Linked DNA regions of Homo sapiens: all the other regions are linked to region 3. Evidence: promoter capture Hi-C in 16 types of primary human blood cells and fetal thymus (Javierre and others, 2016). All regions are on one chromosome and are shown on one strand. Each heading gives the region's core, a stretch centred on a gene start or on the middle of the fragment in contact. The rest is flanking DNA. Distances are from core to core; before and after follow the strand shown.

Region 1 (3,851 bases), core at 780-3,279, 270 kb after region 3:
GCTCAATAAGTATCTCTGGAATGAATGAATATAAGACTCCTGCGCCCTGCAGAGCTAACATCTGCTCACGTCGTGCTGCTTGAAATTCTTGGCACCTTCAGCATGTAGCTAACACCCCTTAGTACAGCAGGCCCCGACGTTTTCGGCACCAGGGCCCAGTTTTGTGGAAGACAAGCTTTCCACGGAAGGGTTGGGTGGGGCAGTGTTTCCGGATGAAGCTGTTTCACCTCAGATCATCAGGCTTTTTAGTTAGATGCTCATAAGGAGCGTGCAACTTAGATCCCTCATGTGCGCAGTTCGCAAAAGGGTTTGTGCTCCTATGAGACTAATGCAGACCTGGCAGGAGGCAGAGCTCAGGCAGTCATGCTCTCCTTCCCACCCCTCACCTCCCGCTGTGCGGCCCAGCTGGTAACAGCTACCTGTCCACGGCCTGGGGAGTGGGGACCCCTGCCTTAGTACGACTAAAGAAGTCATGGATGAAAAAACACACCCTATGTTCCTGAGCATCACAACTTCCGCATCTCATACCACCCCCTCATCTACTGCCTTGAATCTAGCTCCGCTGAGTCAGCTGTGGTTCTTAAAACTTGCCAGGTTCTTGCGAGCCACTGCAGTTGCCAACGCAGTCCTTGCTGCCTGTATTATCCTCCCCGTCAGCCTGGTGTCGCTGAAAAGACTCAAACTCGGTAAAACATTTGAAGAGATTTATCCCGAGCCAAATATAAGTTACCATTGGCCCATGATGCAGCCCGCAAGAGATCCTGAGAACAGGTGCCCAAGGTGGTCAGGCACAGCTTGCTTTTAGACATTTTAGGGAGACAGCAGACATCAATCAATACATGTAAGATGTCCATTGGTTTGGTCTAGAAAGGCAGGACAACTCGGGGATTCCAGGTCATGGGTAGATAAGAGACAAAAGGCTGCATTATTTTGGGTCTTTAATCAGCCTTTCACTGAAATCACAACTTACATGTGAGAGAGGCGTAGAGGAATAGTCATGTATGCCTTAGTCCAGCTCAGTGAATCTGCATTTTTACATAAACAATAGAGCAGAAGAAGCAAACAGATATGCATTTGTCTCAGGTGAGCACAGGGATGACTTTCTATCCTGTACCTGTGAAGATGAGCTATCAATTTACATGGCCAAGGTGAAATTCAACAGAACTATTTTTAGAGTAAAGACCTTGAGGCCCACAAGGAATTTCCTTGTGGGCAGATTGTGAGGGAGGTATGTATCTTTAATATCTTTATAGCTATTTATTTAGGAACAAAACGGGAGGCAGGCTTGCCTGATAGTTCCCAGCTTGACTTTTCAGCTTAGTGATTTTGGGGTCCCAAGATTTATTTTCCTTTCACACTAGTCAGTTTCCTAACATCACCATGTCCTCTTGGAACCCCTTTCAGCATCATATCCTCATGGTAGAACTTCCTGGCCCCAGAGTCCCCTCCAGGATGGTTTGGGTGGACCTCCTGTGTGCTTCTGTAACACTGTGGGTGCGTCTCTCCCACACTCCATTGCATTGGATTGTAATTCCATATTTTTACTGTGATTCTAGTTCAGACTTCTAGAGTCTAATGCTGTGTTCAATCTCCTCCTTTGCTAATGTGTATGTTTGAAGCTATAATCCTTTCTAAGTACTGCAGTAGCTACATCCCACAATTTGTAATACACACTGTCTTCACTGTCACTAAGTCCCAAGTATTTTATAATTTCATTTGTCATCTCTACTTGACCACTTATCATTTAGAAGTCTGCTTTATAAGCTTCTCAATATATGAAGCCTGGGCTTGTGTTACCATCAATGACTGCCTTGGTCAGAGAACAAGGTCCATATAAAATCAATGCTTTTGTATTTGTTGAGCCTGACATTATGGCTTACTAATGGTTAATTGTTTTAAATGTGCCGTGTGTATTCTCAAATGTTTGGGCTTAGAGTTCTAAATATGTACCTATTCAGTTCAATTTCTTTATTATGCTACTTAAAACTTTACTACCTTTGCTTACTTTTTTTTTGTTTTTTGGCTTCAGCTATCAATTCCTGGAAAAGGTTTGTTAAATATCACTCTATGATTATGGATTTCTCAGCATCTCAGTATAATTCTATCAAGGTGCTTTTTATTCTTCACCATGCAGCATGCCAGTTTGGGAAAGTGATACCACGCTGGCGACGTGAGGAAGCACATGACCTCCCTCTTCCCAAGGGTTCCACCCTCTTCCTTCCTCCTTATCCCTCAGGCTCAACCCGCGAAATGCCACTCTGGCCTCAGAGCATCTCCTTTCATTCCCAAGCTTCCTGAAGCCTTAGTTCCTCTCCCAAATAGTCCTATAACATTTTCTTCCAAACAAACATGTTCCTCTTGAATGAATCTACGACAAACACAATGCTCCCTATCACATTGTGGAGTCCTAATTAGGGAAAAGGAGTCAGGCTGGCACCACCAGGAGAAAGCAAAGAGATAGAGGAAGCAGATAAGCTATAGACCTGCCTTCCCTCATGGTCCGGAACATATAGACAAAAAGAGGAAGGAGATAAGTTATAGGCCTGCCTTTCTTTATGGCCCAGGACATGCAGCCCTCCTGAGCAGATAAGGTGCAGAACTCACAGGCTTCCTGCTGGTCATCAAATGCCTCAATTTGTCAAACACCTCAGCTGATAGAAGAATGCAGGTTAGCTCACTGCTACCTTGGCATTATCAATTCGCCCAACAACCACCCTATAAAAATCCCCAGCCAGCCTTTGTCTCTTCGCAGTCAGCTTCTCTCCTGCTGGTTTTGCCCACTGCTCCCTGGCAACGTACAATGTACTTTCCTACTTTCTTTTTTCTTTTCTTTTTTTTTTCGAGATGGGGTTTTGCTCTTGCTGCCCAGGCTAGAGTGCAATGCCGTGATCTTGGCTCACTGCAACCTCCACCTCCCGGGTTCAAGCAATTCTTCTGCCTCAGCCTCCTGAATAGCTGGGATTACAGGCATGCACCACCACACCCAGCTATTTTTGTATTTTTAGTAGAGACAGGGTTTTGACATGTTGGCCAGGCTGGTCTTGAACTCCCAACCTCGGGTGATCCACCCGCCTCGGCCTCCCAAAGTGCTGAGATTACAGGCGTGAGCCACCATGTCCGACCTTGGTAAATTCTTTTACCCCTCACCACTGGCCAAGATACTCGTGGCTTACTATGACACATATCATGTCAGAGTTATGGTTTCCACATCATATCTTCCAATCGGACCACCAGTTCAGGAAGGGCCTCATCTCAGGCATCCCGGGGGGTGTACCACACAGTGTTGTTCAAGAAACACGTTAGAATGCTAAGAAAAACACTCACACAGGTGTCATAAGGGCGTGCATTGCAGAACCACCTATGAAGCATTTTGGGAATAAAATAATATCTTCGTGCTTAGAATAATTGAGAAAATTTTCTTCCTAAAGATGGGGAAAGACTTGGAGTAACTCTTGATAATCACCTAACACTATTTAACTGTTCTTCTAGCAAACTTTATGTTGTGTTTGTGCCTCGGACTGAGCTAGGAACTCAGCACCAGAGAGAGCTTGGACACAGTTTTGTTTCATTTTGTTTTTTTGTTTTTGTTTTGTTTTGTTTTATTTTTCCCCTCAAAGAATCCATGTTCCCATGGAAGAGATGGGAAGAAAAATCAATATTTTTTTTCTTGGGGATCCAGGAAACCTCAGAATGATGGAGTCTGCCATACTACCACATTGTACAGAGAAATTCTGAATAAGAGGGCAGAAAAATTAAAATGCACATGGAGCTTGAAATAGAGAAATAAACCTCCAAGTCACCAACACAGGAAGGAATTCAAAGCCAAAATAAATTTGCAAGTCAGAGCCACG
Region 2 (3,974 bases), core at 974-3,473, 340 kb after region 3:
CGTATCTTTCCTCTTTGATAACAGCCATTCTGACAGGTGCGAGTGGTGTCTCCTCCTTGTGGTTTTGATTTGCATTTCCCTGATGATTAGTAATGGAGCATGTTTTCATGTGGCTATTGGTCTTGTATTCTTACAGCACGTGACAGTTTCAAAACATGGTCATATACATTCTCTCAAACATGTGAATGAATGTGGCCCTCACTACAGGGTGTTCAGATGGTTAATTTTATGTGTCAACTTGGCCGGGCCTCAGGGTGCCCAGCTGTTTGGTCAAACAATATTCTGGGTGTTTGTGTGAGGATGTATTGGATGAGATTAACGTTTAAGTTGATGGACTTGGAGTAAAGGAGATTGTCCTCTGGAATATGGGTGGGCTTCAGCCAATCAGCTGAAGGCCTAAATGCAGTAAAAGGCTGACCTCCCCTGAGAAAGAAGGAATTCTGCCAGCCTTTGGACTTGAACCACGACGTGGGCTCTTCCCTGGGTCTCTAGCCTGCTGGCCCACTCTACAAATTTTGGACTTGTCAGCCTCCATAATTGTGTAAGCCAATTCCTTAAAGCCTGGTTTCTCTCTCTCGCTCTCTCTTTCTATACATATATATATATATATTCTATATCTATATCTATCTATGTAACTATATATCTGTATCTATCTATCTGTATTTTATTGACTCTGTCTGCAGACTCCTAACTAATACAGGTGGGTACTATCCCCATTTTACAGACAAAGATTAAATTGAGTCTCAGAAATGTGAGCTATGAATAAGATACTTCTTCATAGCTAGTGAAGAGAACCAAATCCAATGCTTCTAGACTTTCAACCTCGCAGGCTTTCCTTCACTGTCTGCTACCTTTGCTACCCCTCTGCTCTATAATCTTCAAGGATTTTTCACTGCTGAAGGCATCACGCCTGAACTCCTTTCCTTGGCATTTAGGTGCTGCACAGTATGGCTGCGTTTCCTCCTCTCCACTCAGGTATTTCTCCTCAGTGGCACCCCCCTCTGGCACCCACAAGGGAGAAGTAAAGATCTCCTAGTGGTGGCAGAGCCCATTATCCAACCTGGAGAGAAACAGATCATTCCGTAGGCTGACGCTATAATTAAAGGTTAAAGGTATAAATCTGCTGCGCAGATATGATGAAAAGAAAGCATCTCTTAGACTGGGTAGGTCTTTAAATGTAAGCTCCAAGGTGCATGTCCCTGCAGCCTGGAGGGCTGGCGCGTAGGTTCCTGACAGGCGCCAGGGGCCTCTGGTGACGGCGGTGCCCATGTGGCCACTCGCCAGGGCTGCACTGTCTGGAATGGTAGCCACTAGCATATCTGTTTCTTTACATTTTTTTTTTTTTGAGACGGAGTCTTGCTCTGTAGCCCAGGTTGGAGCGTAGTGGCGTGATCTTGGCTGCAATCTCCACCTCGTGGGTTCAAGCAATTCTCCTGCCTCAGCCTCCCAAGTAGCTGGGATTACAGGCACATGACACCACCCCTTTTTGTATTTTTAGTAGAGATGGGCTTTCACTATGTTGGCCAGGCTGGTCTTGAACTCGTGACCTCAGGTGATTCACCCGCCTCAGCCTCTCAAAGTGCTGGGATTACAGGCATGAGCCACCATGTCTGGCCTTTTACATTTAAATTAATGACGATGAAATAGAATTCGAACCTCAGTTCCTCAGGCACATTGGCCATGTTGTAAGTGCTGAGAAGCCCCCTCTGCTTGGCTAGTGGCTGCCATATTGAATGTCTCCATCACTGCAGAAAGTCAAACTGCAAAGCACTGAAGTAGAGAGACCAGTCCCAAGTATGGATCCCAAAGCCCTTGGTCACAGCTGGTTAGTGACAGAGCGAGGACTATGACAGAGAAGGCTGGGGCGAGAGGAGGCTGAGAGCCACAGACCCTTCCAGAAGGACAAAGGAAGCGTCCTCGTGGTTCATGGTGATTGTCTCTGCAATGCCTGGGGGCCAGAGAGAGTAGCCCCCGCCTCAGCTGGGAGGTGCCACCCAGGCCACGGCTCCAGCAGCCTGGGCTGCAGGCAGAAGTTTGGCTCTGCCCCCACACTCCCGGAGCCCCACCCCAGGAAGGCACAGTGGCAACACCACACTGAAGCTACGACTTCAGTCTGAGGTTCACGTGAGCCCCTGGTCCAAGCTTCCAAGTGGTTTCAGCAAATATATTAGATATGCTTGATTGAAATGTGTAGATCAAATGAAAATACATGATACTAGAAAGTTTGACTACAATCTACACTGCAGTTTATATTATTGTAGTCTATCGCTTCTGTGCAAATAAGTTATAACATAATAAAGCTTGCTTAACTTGAAGAAAAAATGAAACACCTATGGATTTGACACAATTTTTTTAAATTTTATTATTATTATACTTTAAGTTTTAGGGTACATGTGCACAAGGTTCAGGTTTGTTACATATGTATACATGTGCCATGTTGGGGTGCTGCACCCATTAACTCATCATTTACATTAGGTATATCTCCTAATGCTATCCCTCCCCACTCCCCCAACCCCACGACAGGCCCCGGTGTGTGAGGTTCCCCTTCTTGTGTCCAAGTGTTTTCATTGTTCAATTCCCACCTATGAGTGAGAACATGCGGTGTTTGGTTTTCTGTCCTTGCGATAGTTTGCTCAGAATGATGGTTTCCAGTTTCATCCATGTCCCTGGGATTTGATACAATTTTATTGAACAGAAGTCTTAGATTCTGAGGACATGGAAATTCCAGCAGCCAGCAGGGCCATTTGCACCCGCAGAAAGAGATGCACTGTGTTAGGAGAAAACAGTTGTCTGCATTTTCTGTTTTTTTGCATTTCTGTCTCATATTTTAAGAATTCCCTTTGAATAATTTCAACCTTGTATCAACTGATCTAAGAAAAACAAATGTTCACACTTTGCAGAGACAGGTTAGTGATCAGATTAACATCTCTAAACGGGGGAGAGGGTGACAGTGGTTCTTCTGACTCCTAATGACCTAGGGCAAGGCTGAGGCAGACTGTGATACCAGCTGGGATTGACACCTGGTGATCCTTTCCTGCCTGGGGTGTTCCCTTCCAGAGAGCATCACGAAGGTGTGGCCTCAGGCAAAATTGTGAAACAAAAATCTTTGTCTCCAGGACTTCCTTCCCCTCCTTCTTCCTAGATACCCTATTCCGGCTTTTTCTCCTCAGGTATTTGATCTACTAGGGTGATAAAATGGCAGTGCGGAAATACTAATGTTTTACTCCTCCCAGGTTGCATATGAATAATAACATTTACATTTTTAACACAAAGCTCTGGAGACAGTGCCAGAATCAAAGGCAGGAGCAGATATCTCGAGTCTCAGCAAGTGGGTGTCTACCTGCGTGCCAGCCGGGCCAGCTCACTGCCATTTCTGAATGCATTTTCTTTTCTTTCTTTTTTCAAATTTCTAATTTTTATTTTAAGTTCAGGGGTACACGTGCAGGATGCGCAGGTTTGTTACGCAGGTAAAGGTGTGCCATGGAGGTTTGCAGCAGAGACCATCGAATCACCCAGGGATGAAGCCCAGCATGCATTGGCTGTTCTTCCTGATAGGCTCCCTCCCCCGACCCCATTGACCTCCGACAGGCCCCGGTGTGTGTTGGCCCCCATGAGTCCGTGCGTTCTCCGAGTGCATTCTCTTCCCACAGCATTGGTTGTCTTGCTCAAGCCCACTGCTCTCCGCAGACAGCCCATGAAGCTGGTTTCCAGATATACCATCAAATTCGAGATTCGCCAAGAAGCCCCAGAGGCTTGACCGACCTGAAGTCCCACGGAGTCAGCAAGGAGATATTTGGGATCAAGTTGAAGGTCAGGCAGTTTTTGAAACACTCTCCTTAAGACCAAGTCCTGGTCAGGGTGGGTCCATCCTTCTGAACCTGAGTGGGTCTGCGCGTGAGACAAGGTAGGATTCTGGAAGCCTAAATCGCAGGTGGTCTGGAGAGGGTGGGGGCTTTGGGGAACGTTCCCACGTG
Region 3 (4,198 bases), core at 1-2,500:
AAATCCGTCCTTCTCCCAAACAATATCATGACGTCCCCACTATCTCAGAAACAAGAATCCAGTCTTGACAAGGTGTAAACATAGAGTTTGTCAGTGTGTTCTTCTGGCCACAAAGGACTTCCAGATATTTATCTCCATCAAAAACTTCCCTGTCTCCCAGGGGAAGTGCAGAGAAACTAAGAACTTAGTTTCTCTAAGTAAAAAAGAAGCAAATGACAAAGCCGAGCGGCGTAGGGCCTGCCACCACTTCCAACCGTTCAGTTCATTCGATACTGCCGGTCGGCTTCCCACTGGAGGTTTTGAATATGGAAAGTGCTGACCTGAAAGATAGGGTCAGGGCTGTAGAATCCTTAAAATAAGCACAGTTTAGAAAAATGCTGGGCTAGGGCACCCAGAAAACTTTTTCACAGGCTGTGGGTAAATCACAGTATCACTGAAGCCACTCCTTTGCCATAAACAACATTTGGAAAAGGGGGAGAGGAAAGGGTGAGCTGGTAACAGGTGAATGGTGGGAAAGTGGAGAGAGACGACCTATCAGTCCTACTGTGCAAATAAATCATGGCCCGGGATCTTGGAGGCCCACGGACACTGTTCTTACGACCCTGCCAGGCCAGCTGGCTAGACCATACCTGCCAGGCTGAAGCGCCGGCCTCTGCGGAATAAGGCGCCTCCCAGAGGCTTGGGAGGAAAAGGGGGGCCTGGGGGAAGGGCAGAGGGAGCTCTCCGCGGAGCAGTGGGGACGGGGCCGCGATGGGGTGCGTCTGAGAGGGCTCTGACGGCTGGAGGGCTGCGGGCGTCCACGGGGGGCAGAGCCCGGCGTCACAGGCGCGGCGGGGTGGGCGGCTCGGGGCACAGACGCCGGCTCCCGAGGGCACGCCGGGTGTCGCCCAGAGGCCTGGATCGCGCGGCAGGAGTAGAGTGCCTGCAGCCGCAGGGGAACTCGGGGGTATTGGGGAGCTCCCAGAAAGAAGCAGCTGGGGCTGCTCCCCCCGGGAACTCGGGATTCGCGGGTCGCGGGAGGAGAGAACCCGAGGTGCGGAGGGCTGGGGAATGTGGGGTCCGGCAGGTGCTGCGCGAAGCTCTCTCTCACCTGCGGAGCACCAGGAAGCCCAAGACGACCAGCAGCAGGAGTCCCAGCGTGCGGGCCGGCCTCCGCCGGAGGCTCCACGTGGTCATCGCGTGTTCTCTAAGCGCGGGGACCCGGGTTCCCACTCCAGTCCGCACTCAGCCGCGCGCGGGAGCCTCGCCGCGGGGGGCGGAGCCGCGCACTGGTCGCCTGGGCAACCGGCCCGCCGGCGCTCATTGGCTGGGGCTCGCGGCTCCGCGCCTGCAGCCCTAGGCCTCGCGCAAGCGGGGGCGGGGCTGGCCGGGGCCGGGGCGGGGCCTCTGTCGGGGGGGGGGCGGGGCGGGGCTGGTGGGCGGGGACGAGGTCTCGGTAGGAGAGGGGGCTGGCGGGGGCGGGGCTGGCGGGGCGGGGCCCCGGCCGGGGGCGGGGCGGGGACAAGGTCTCGGTAGGGGACGGGTCTGGCCGGGGCGGGTCCCCAGTGTCGTGGAGCGGTGCAGAGTCCGCCGTCTTTCTGCTCGCGAGGCGCAGGCGGGTGCGGGAATGCTGCGTACCTGTCAAACGCCGAGGTAAAGTCGCCCCTCGCAGCGCTACATCAGGAAGAACGTACAAAAGGCGTCCGCAAAGCAGGGGCAACCAACAGAATCTTTTAAAACAATTCAGATTCTGAAGCAAACAACTTTTTCAATAACAAATCATCCTGTGAAAAGCCAGGATTTTGAAGAATTGTATCTGGACACATTTCAGTGTGGTTCATGTCTGAGGAGGGGGGGTTCCAAATATTTTCTGTCTTTGGTTTCTGCGAGTCTTACTCTGGCCTTGACTCCAAGGGCTTCCAATTTTTTATTTTAAAAAGGTCCATATAAAACTCTCACATTTTAGGAAAGGAAGAATATCATTCTTATTCTGAAACAGAATGTATGTCCCAAAGAACATGATGTAGTATTTCGGTGCAACTTACACTGTAGCAATCACAAACCCAACTCCTCCCGGGAACAAAATTCAGATTTTACTGAAAGAAACTCGAGGAAGGGCAACGTTTTCCAGAGCATCCGGGTTTGTCGAATGTCTCCCTTGCCGCATGCTTTGAATTCATTTCCTAAACGGGGGCATAGTTTTGAACTTGTAAAGCCGACAGGAACCAAATGAAATTGCAGATCTTGGAACAAAGACACAGACTTGGGTATGAAGTGTCCTTTGTCTAGCGTTAAGCACATATTTAGTCAAGGAGCAAAAGTTAAATCAAAGAGAGGCAAAAACAAACGAACAAACAAGAGGAAAAAAACCCTGGCAGAACTGGGGAGGATAAGCTGGGCTTGGAGCAATCCGGGTCTGACTTAAGCACCGCAAACATTCCCAGAGGCGCGCAGAGGGAGGCCCACTCCCGTGGACGCGCTCCAAGCCCGCTCCTTTTCTCCATTGGGTAAGGCTATGATTGCTTGATGGCTATGAAGTCTGTGATGGAAACATGTTGGTTTAATTGGAATATACCAGCTAGCCCCGAAGCGTGTGGAGAAATTGTCAAAGGCTAGCCCCTTTGCCTGCAGGGGACCATCCGAAAGACATGCACCCCACATTCATCCTCTCACTTCTGGTCACGTTGAACAGTGGCAGAATCTATCAAATATAAGGGAATTCTCAAATGGTTTAAGCAATACAAGCATCTCCATTTTTCTTCAAACGTTAGCAAAAACTTAACATGGGTTGTGAAAACCGTGAACTCCTTGGCCCACCCTTGTATCCTTCGTTTTTATTTGTGCGAGAAAAATATACATAACTGAGTGTTTTCAAAAAAATTTCCCCTTAACCTTGTGGGATGTTCAGAACTAGGGACACACCCTGCTCACAGTCTAGGAACAATTTTACTTTATCTGGGCTTAATGATACCACAGAATGCTACAAAGTTAGCACTAACCCGAGATGCGTCTTGCTCATAGGCTGAGACTTTTTTTTTTTTTTTTGAGACAGAGTCTCACTCTGTTACCCAGGCTGGAGTGCAGTGGTGCAATCTCAGCTCACTGCAATGCCTCCCGGGATGCAAGCTATTCTCCTGCCTCAGTCTCCCGAATAGGTGGGACTGCAGGCACCCACCACCTTCCCCGGCTAATTTTTGTATTTTTAGTAGAGACGGGGTTTCACCATGTTGCCCAGGCAGATCTCAAACTCTTGACCTCAGGTGATCCACCTGCCTCGGCCTCCCAAAGGGCTGGGATTACAGGCGTGAGTCACCATTTCCAGCCTGAGACTTTTGTTTTTTAAAACATTAGGCCGGGTGCGGTGGCTCAAGCCTGAATCCCAGCACTTTGGGAGGCCGAGGGGGGCAGATCACGAGGTCAGGAGATCGAGACCATCCTGGCTAACACGGTGAAACCCCATCTCTACTAAAAATACAAAAATTAGCCGGGCGTAGTGGCGGGCGCCTGTAGTCCCAGCTACTCAAGAGGCTGAGGCAGGAGAATGGCGTGAACCCAGGAGGCAGAGCTTGCAGTGAGCCGAGATCGTGCCACTGCACTCCAGCTTGGGCGACAGAGCGAGACTCCGTCTCAAAAAAAAAAAAAAAAAAAAATTAGCAAGATACTCCTTCAGTGTCTCCTTTCCAAAATGTTTAGTGATCTTAACCCAAAGCAGACAGTGAAAATACTCAAATCCCTGGGAACAAAAGCTACAGTTACAATGAGCTGGCATAAGAGTGGGGTAAAAAAGTGGTCTGCCAAGGTGCTTGGCTTGGTAATGAATCCCTGGTACACAGGAATCATCCTCTTCCCAGGCCTTCTTTCTAGTGTCCAGGGTTTAGAAAATACAAGAAATGCTTTTTAAAAAAGTTAAATCTTGTTGGTGTGCCATTTCCATTGCTCTAAGTCAGAGCTCCAACAGACCCAGAGGGCACAGTTCCTTCCTTGAAAATTCCTGTATCACAGATAATCAGCGGGAAACCGAAACACATACAAAATGCACACACAGGAGAATAAAAACCACACTCGCTCAAAATCAGTACAGTGAAGTCACGTGGGAAAAGCGATCATGTCAAACTAGTCTCATTTGCTGTTTCACTTTTTATTTTTAATAGGTAACAGGTTTACAGATCAGTTATTCATTCACGTAACTCATTTTTGAGGGCACTCTGCTAATGCTTTA

The links. The method cuts DNA at HindIII sites, captures the fragments that hold promoters and counts their contacts. A CHiCAGO score of 5 or more calls a contact.
Region 1: a fragment that was not itself captured here is called in contact with the fragment with the promoter of GLB1L2 in region 3 in 8 of 17 cell types (naive CD8 T cells, total CD8 T cells, naive CD4 T cells and 5 more); the score reaches 8.6 in naive CD8 T cells.
Region 2: a contact is called between a fragment that was not itself captured here and the fragment with the promoter of GLB1L2 in region 3, in 2 of 17 cell types (naive CD8 T cells and activated CD4 T cells). The highest score is 5.5, in naive CD8 T cells.

What each region holds. Positions count from the first base shown.
Region 1 is chr11:134,059,193-134,063,043 of GRCh38, reverse strand. No RefSeq gene overlaps it. Among named protein-coding and RNA genes, the nearest start is that of JAM3, 8.0 kb to the left of the region's middle. The HindIII fragment of the contact is 526 bases long and covers 1,767-2,292 here.
Region 2 is chr11:133,991,400-133,995,373 of GRCh38, reverse strand. No RefSeq gene overlaps it. Among named protein-coding and RNA genes, the nearest start is that of LINC02730, 15 kb to the left of the region's middle. RefSeq lists an enhancer at 1,239-1,739. The HindIII fragment of the contact is 158 bases long and covers 2,145-2,302 here.
Region 3 is chr11:134,329,040-134,333,237 of GRCh38, reverse strand. GLB1L2 (galactosidase beta 1 like 2) reads right to left here and starts at 1,250. Exons shown (of 19, transcript NM_001370461.1): 1 at 1,091-1,250. The coding sequence starts at 1,176. RefSeq lists a silencer at 1,101-1,400. The HindIII fragment of the contact is 5,891 bases long and covers 1-4,198 here.